Regions from separate parts of the Homo sapiens genome. Here region 2 is linked to region 1. Evidence: promoter capture Hi-C in human tissues and cell types (Jung and others, 2019). All regions are on one chromosome and are shown on one strand. The core of a region is centred on a gene start or on the middle of the fragment in contact, and the rest is flanking DNA. Distances in the headings are between cores, read along the strand shown. Region 1 holds the start of BLM (BLM RecQ like helicase). Region 2 holds the start of FES (FES proto-oncogene, tyrosine kinase).

What was found. Contacts are between HindIII fragments. The study calls those that stand out against the background at their distance.
Region 2: a contact is called between the fragment with the promoter of FES here and the fragment with the promoter of BLM in region 1, in 2 of the 25 tissues and cell types used here (spleen and stomach).

Annotation. Positions count from the first base shown.
Region 1 is chr15:90,715,864-90,718,942 of GRCh38, forward strand. It overlaps BLM (BLM RecQ like helicase), which reads left to right and starts at 1,483. Exons shown (of 22, transcript NM_000057.4): 1 at 1,483-1,577. CRTC3-AS1 (CRTC3 antisense RNA 1) reads right to left here and starts at 1,277. Exons shown (of 4, transcript NR_120372.1): 1 at 1,118-1,277. The HindIII fragment of the contact is 5,728 bases long and covers 1-2,834 here.
Region 2 is chr15:90,883,172-90,886,115 of GRCh38, forward strand. FES (FES proto-oncogene, tyrosine kinase) reads left to right here and starts at 1,333. Exons shown (of 19, transcript NM_002005.4): 1 at 1,333-1,373; 2 at 1,866-2,087; 3 at 2,241-2,414. The coding sequence starts at 1,875. FURIN (furin, paired basic amino acid cleaving enzyme) reads left to right here. Exons shown (of 16, transcript NM_002569.4): 16 at 1-286. RefSeq lists enhancers at 382-511, 2,049-2,478 and a silencer at 909-1,418. The HindIII fragment of the contact is 25,407 bases long and covers 1-2,944 here.

The sequences.
Region 1 (3,079 bases), core at 233-2,732:
GCTATGAGTCTTTTGGTGAATAAAGGCATTCATTTTTTGGGGTAAATATCTAGAAATGGGATTTCTGGGGTATAGGGTAGGGGTAAATTTGATTTCAGTAGAGACTGATGTTTCCAAAGTGGTTGTACCATTTTACACTCCCATCAACACTGTATGAGAGTCCCATTTCTGCATCTTTGCAACTAAGGGAATTGTCAGTCTTTTCATTTCAGCTATTCTATGGAGTGTTTAATAGTATCATATTTTGGTTTCAATTTACCATAGAAGATTTTCAGGAGGGAGGTAACTTGAACAGATTTTTACATTTTAGAAAACTCTTTCTGCGTATTATGTGGAGAATGATTATTTGTATACCAAAGTTCATAGCAGCATTATTCACAATAGCCAAAAGGTGGGAATAACCAAGCATCCATTTATATGGATGAATGGATAAACAAAATGTAGTATACATGTATAATGGAATATTATTTAGCCTCAAGAAGGAAGAAATTCTGATACATGCTACAACATAGATGCTCCTTGAAGACATTATGCTAAGTGAAATAAGCCAATCAGAAAAGAGCAATTATTGTATGATTCAATTTATATGCGGTACCTCGCACTTACAGACAGAAAGTGCAATATCGGCTATAAGGGGTTGTGAGAAACGGGTAACGGGGAGTTACTGTGTAACAGGCAGATTTTCTATTTGGGATAATGAAAAAGTTCTGGAGATGGATAGTGGTGATGGTTTCACAACAATGTGAATGTACTTAATGCCAGTGAACTGTACACTTAAAAATGGTGAATTTTATGTTAGATAGATTTTATCACACACACAAAGAGGAGGGAGGGCGGGAGGGAAGGAGAGAGGGAAGGAAGTAGAGAGGGGAGAAGAGAGGAAGAAAGGAAAGAAAGTAAGATCTGGCATCACAGGGCCCACATTCCCGCGTGTCAGCAATAGGCTGAAACAGAAGCATGGTTTCTCACGTGTCCATGGAGGCATCTGAGTGTGTGCCCACTTTCCCGGTTCAATGACAATTTGCACCTGCTCGTGTAGAGGGGTACGGGTGAAACAGAGACCAGTATTATTAAGGGGATGGAGAGGAGAGACCGCCAAAACATCGCAGAGACACACCGTCGGAACCAAGAGAATGGGGTGCAGACGCCTGGCTTGGCCTGTGGGAACTGGCAAGTCTCAGCTCTCAAACGCCCGGGCTTTTCAACCCGCCACAGCCGGGTTCCAGCTGCCTACTTCCTTTAAAGCCTTCACCGACTCTAAAACACCAAAAACAAAGACCCAACTAGCTCCGGAAGCCCGAGATGTAACCGTAGTCATCTGACCCTCCCGTCCGGACTCTGATTGGGCTTTGGAGATACGCGTCCCTCCCGGCGCTGTACGGCGACCCCGCCCCAGCAGCCTGAGGGGGCGGGAACAGATGTCCGAGTGCGACAGTATTGGTCGGCTTCCCCAGGAAGCAGCCAATCGGAATAGGCAAGCTTCCGGCGGGAAGTGAGCCAGGGCTTGGCGCGGCGGCCGTGGTTGCGGCGCGGGAAGTTTGGATCCTGGTTCCGTCCGCTAGGAGTCTGCGTGCGAGGTGAGTACCGCGCGCGTAACTACGGGTCGGTCCGCATTGATCTAGCCCTGCTCTGGCGGCCCGGCCCGGAGCTGGAGGCCGCTCGGGTTCTTCCGTTTCCTGCACTGGTTCGCCTCGGCCCGCTGAGTCCTCTAGTCTGGCCAACATCCTGGGAGGACAGCAGATACATAAATACGTTCCCAAATGGGGAAACAGAGGCCCGGGGCGGGGGCGAACTCTGCCAAGGTCTCCCGGGGCGTCGGAGGCCGAGCATGGGCTAGGACCTGGCATGTTGTTGCCCATATACTCCAGTGCGTAACATGATGCCCTGCACAGAGTAATCCCAGCCCAGACCTCTGGCACTACTACCTCCGTGTCCCTCCTGAGGAACAACGAAAACACTTTGTACTTTTTCTGTGGCCTTCCATAATCACGAGCTGGGCTACTCTTGTTTTTGAGTGTCTACTGTGTGCCATGTTCCTGGCACCCTTGATCTTACAACTGTAGCTTTACGATATCCCAGCAAAGCGAAGTGCTTAAGAATACTGCATCAGATTGCTTGGGTTCGAATTCTGGCTCCTTCACATTTAGCTCTGTGTCTACTGCACGTTACTGAAACACTAAGTGTCTTGGTTTTCGTCTGTCATATGGGGGAAATGGTCTCTTCTACTTCCTGGCGTTTTTGTTAGGATTAAACGACTTAATATATGCAATAATAAATGCTTCGAAGGCTACCTGTTACATAGTACACAGTAAGGGTTCTGTTATCATTACCCAGAGAAGCGGATGAAATTGTCCCCATTTTAGACATGGAGAATCTGAAGTACAAAGAGGTTGTCTCCGTACAGAAAGAGCATTTGGTGATTAAGTGCTAGAGATACAGGATTTGAACTAAGCGCCTGATTTTAAAGTATGTCCCACAACATTAGGCTTTCTCCTATAGCCCTCACCTGTCCTTAGGTCACACAGAACTTTAGGTACCTCATGGCGTGAGATGGAGCAGGTGACTGACAGCTCCTTGTGCCACCCATGCAGATAAATAACACTGGTGTGTCACTGTCAAGATTAAGGGACAGGAATTCGAGAGACTGCATGAGAGATCAGAAGATGAAGAAGCGGGTAGGCAAAAGTATTCTGTTTGGGGAATAGTAAATAGAATTAATTAAATCAACATTTTGTTAGCTGGGCTGCTTATACTGTCAGACAGTAGCTTATAATCTACTGGGAAGAAATGAAATTTCTGGGTCCTGTGTCACTTTCAATGCCACTCACCATGACAGGTACCTTATAAGTATAGTTTACAGTCCTATCAGTAACCTGGAGAAGTAGTTATTTCCTTCGTTTTACTGAGGAAACCAAGAGTTAAAAAATCAGGAAAAGTGTTAGATGTGCAGTAGAACATCATCATGCTGGGAAGTTCTACACATCCGCTTCAGGACAGGTGGTATTACCTATGAGCAGGAAGGGAAGGGAAAAAGGTAAGGGGAATGAGTGATAGTTTATTGTTTTGATTTTTAAATTTT
Region 2 (2,944 bases), core at 83-2,582, 170 kb after region 1:
TTGCACCCCTCCCATTAGGACAATCAGTCCCCTCCCATCTGGGAGTCCCCTTTTCTTTTCTACCCTAGCCATTCCTGGTACCCAGCCATCTGCCCAGGGGTGCCCCCTCCTCTCCCATCCCCCTGCCCTCGTGGCCAGCCCGGCTGGTTTTGTAAGATGCTGGGTTGGTGCACAGTGATTTTTTTCTTGTAATTTAAACAGGCCCAGCATTGCTGGTTCTATTTAATGGACATGAGATAATGTTAGAGGTTTTAAAGTGATTAAACGTGCAGACTATGCAAACCAGGCCCAGTCTCCAGTGTGGTACCGTTGCTCCTGCATCGCAGCTGAGGATAGGGGGCCAGTTAGGCCTACACAGTGGCCTGCCTGCCTGGATGTGGGCCCAAGTCAGAAGGCCAAAGTCCTCCAAGGGGCGGGAGGATGCGCCAGCCCCTAGTGGAGGAGCTGGTGCCCCTGGGGTGGGGCTGGTGACCCCTGGTCCTCAGGAGCTGAGCACTAAACTCCCAAAGTCCTGGTTTCCAGCAGTGTGAAGAACTGGGCCTATTGTGTCTTCCTGGGCTGAAGTGATCTGGTCGCCACAGGCTATAGGGCTGAGGCCTAAGGTGGAGGGAGGCCTGACTGAATCAAGATGACTTCTTGTGGGGAGCCTGAGTCCCAAATGGAAAACTCCACGCCTGTCCGCTCCCCAACCCCTGCCCCTTGATTTCCCCAGGTCTCCCTTGGGACAGGAAGCCCCTGCCTGGGGGTAGGAGGATGGGGACAAAACCACTAGGATCTGTATCCGAGAAGCAGTCTCTGTTCGGGATATTTACTTGGAAATTTTATTCAAATGGAAGCTGGCGCCTGAGCCTCTCCTTAGGGAATTCCGTGAGGTGGGGAGGGCTGGGACCAGGGTTCCCTCTTTCTCTTCTGCGGTGGCCCTGGCCTGGTGCTAGGACTGCGCGCCTCCCCTCAGTACCCGCGGACACCCTGGGCTTCCCTGGGCCCAGCATCTGCCTGGGGCCTCGCCCTGGGCTCCCCCTCCTGACCCCCACCTTGCGCCCCTTCCCGGTGTTCCCGGGGCGCTGCCGGGCCCTGGGGCCTGCGGGGCGCGGGCGGCTCTTGGCTGGGCCATTCTTTCCCGGCCCCCTCCTCCCTTCCGTTTCCGTGGCCGTGCGGCCGGCTAGAGGCTGCGGCCCAGCGCGGAGCAGGGGGGCTGGCAGGCGTCGGGGCGGTCGGGCCGGTCCCGCCCGCCCCTTCCCCTCCACAGGCCCGCCCCGGGGCCTGGGCCAACTGAAACCGCGGGAGGAGGAAGCGCGGAATCAGGAACTGGCCGGGGTCCGCACCGGGCCTGAGTCGGTCCGAGGCCGTCCCAGGAGCAGCTGCCCGTGCGGGTACCTCTAGCCCCGGGGCCTGGAGGAGCGGTGGGAGCTGGGGGCGCGGCAGGCAGGGGCAGAGCAGGCGTTCCGAGGGCCAGAGACCCACCCAGGTGGGGGTAGGGGCCGCGGAAGGGCGGGGATGGCCGCAGGGGCAGGGCTCAGGCTGTGGGCGCCTGAGGCTTCAGCTGGGGCAGGCTTGGCCTGTCGAGGACCTGGGCAAGGGTGTCCCTGTAAGGGGTGGTGGGTGGAAGGGCCTGGGGAGGGAGGCTCCAGGTTGGCTCCTGTTCCCGAACGTGCGGAGGAGACCCTGACGCTAAGGAAGCAATGAGGGCCAGTCCCCAGGCCAGGCTGCTGCTGGGTACCCATGGCTGCGTGTGAGCGAGGCAGGACCCCACCTCCTCCCCGTCTGCAGTCCATCCTGACCCTACAGTCCCCAGTCTCCTCGTCCCATGCCTCCGTCTCCAGCTGCTGCCTTGCCTCCAGGGATGGCCCCTTTTCTGTCCCCAGAACAGCACTATGGGCTTCTCTTCCGAGCTGTGCAGCCCCCAGGGCCACGGGGTCCTGCAGCAAATGCAGGAGGCCGAGCTTCGTCTACTGGAGGGCATGAGAAAGTGGATGGCCCAGCGGGTCAAGAGTGACAGGGAGTATGCAGGACTGCTTCACCACATGTCCCTGCAGGACAGTGGGGGCCAGAGCCGGGCCATCAGCCCTGACAGCCCCATCAGTCAGGTGGGTCTCTATGGGACTCTGGTGGGTGCTGGCTGTATCTGCCTTCTCCTTCCTCTCCTGGGGGCCCTCTGGGGCAGTGGCTGGAGATCTGGCAGGCCAATGCTTGGGAGCCATTGTGCCCCCCTCCCTGCCTCCCCCATCTGTGCTGTATAGTCCTGGGCTGAGATCACCAGCCAAACTGAGGGCCTGAGCCGCTTGCTGCGGCAGCACGCAGAGGATCTGAACTCAGGGCCCCTGAGCAAGCTGAGCCTGCTCATCCGGGAACGGCAGCAGCTTCGCAAGACCTACAGCGAGCAGTGGCAGCAGCTGCAGCAGGAGCTCACCAAGGTGAGCGGGCAGCACTGGGGCTTCGGTCATTTCTGTCTAAATTTTGAGCCTCGAAGGGGTTGTTTTGCACAAGAGGCCCTGGATTCACTGGGGAAGTGTAAGTCCCTGACCGCAGGCCTGGCTTGCTCTAACCTTGATGCAGCTTCCTCTCTTCCTTCCCCTACGTTGAGCTGGCTTGCAGCAAGGCCTCTCTGTGCTTTTTCTGTGCCTGGGCAAAGTGCTGGGAGTGTAAGGATGAGTGACCGGTCACGTGCCTGGGAGAAGCTCAGAATCGGTACTCGCCTCCACACTGTGCCATCTGGCTCTGGGTTCTGAGAGTCAGGGAGAGGAATGAGGGTCAGTCTGTTTGCCTTCGACCTAGGCAGCCTCCTCTCAGGGCCCCAGAGACTGGGCAGCAGCATGGCCCCCCGAAGGTCGAGGATTCGGGCCGTGAAGTCAGCCTGCCTAGGTTTGAATCCCACCCAGCTCCTCAGTCTAGAGGCTGTGTGATTTGGAACTATTTATCTGGGAGCCTAGTGCCCCCATTCAGT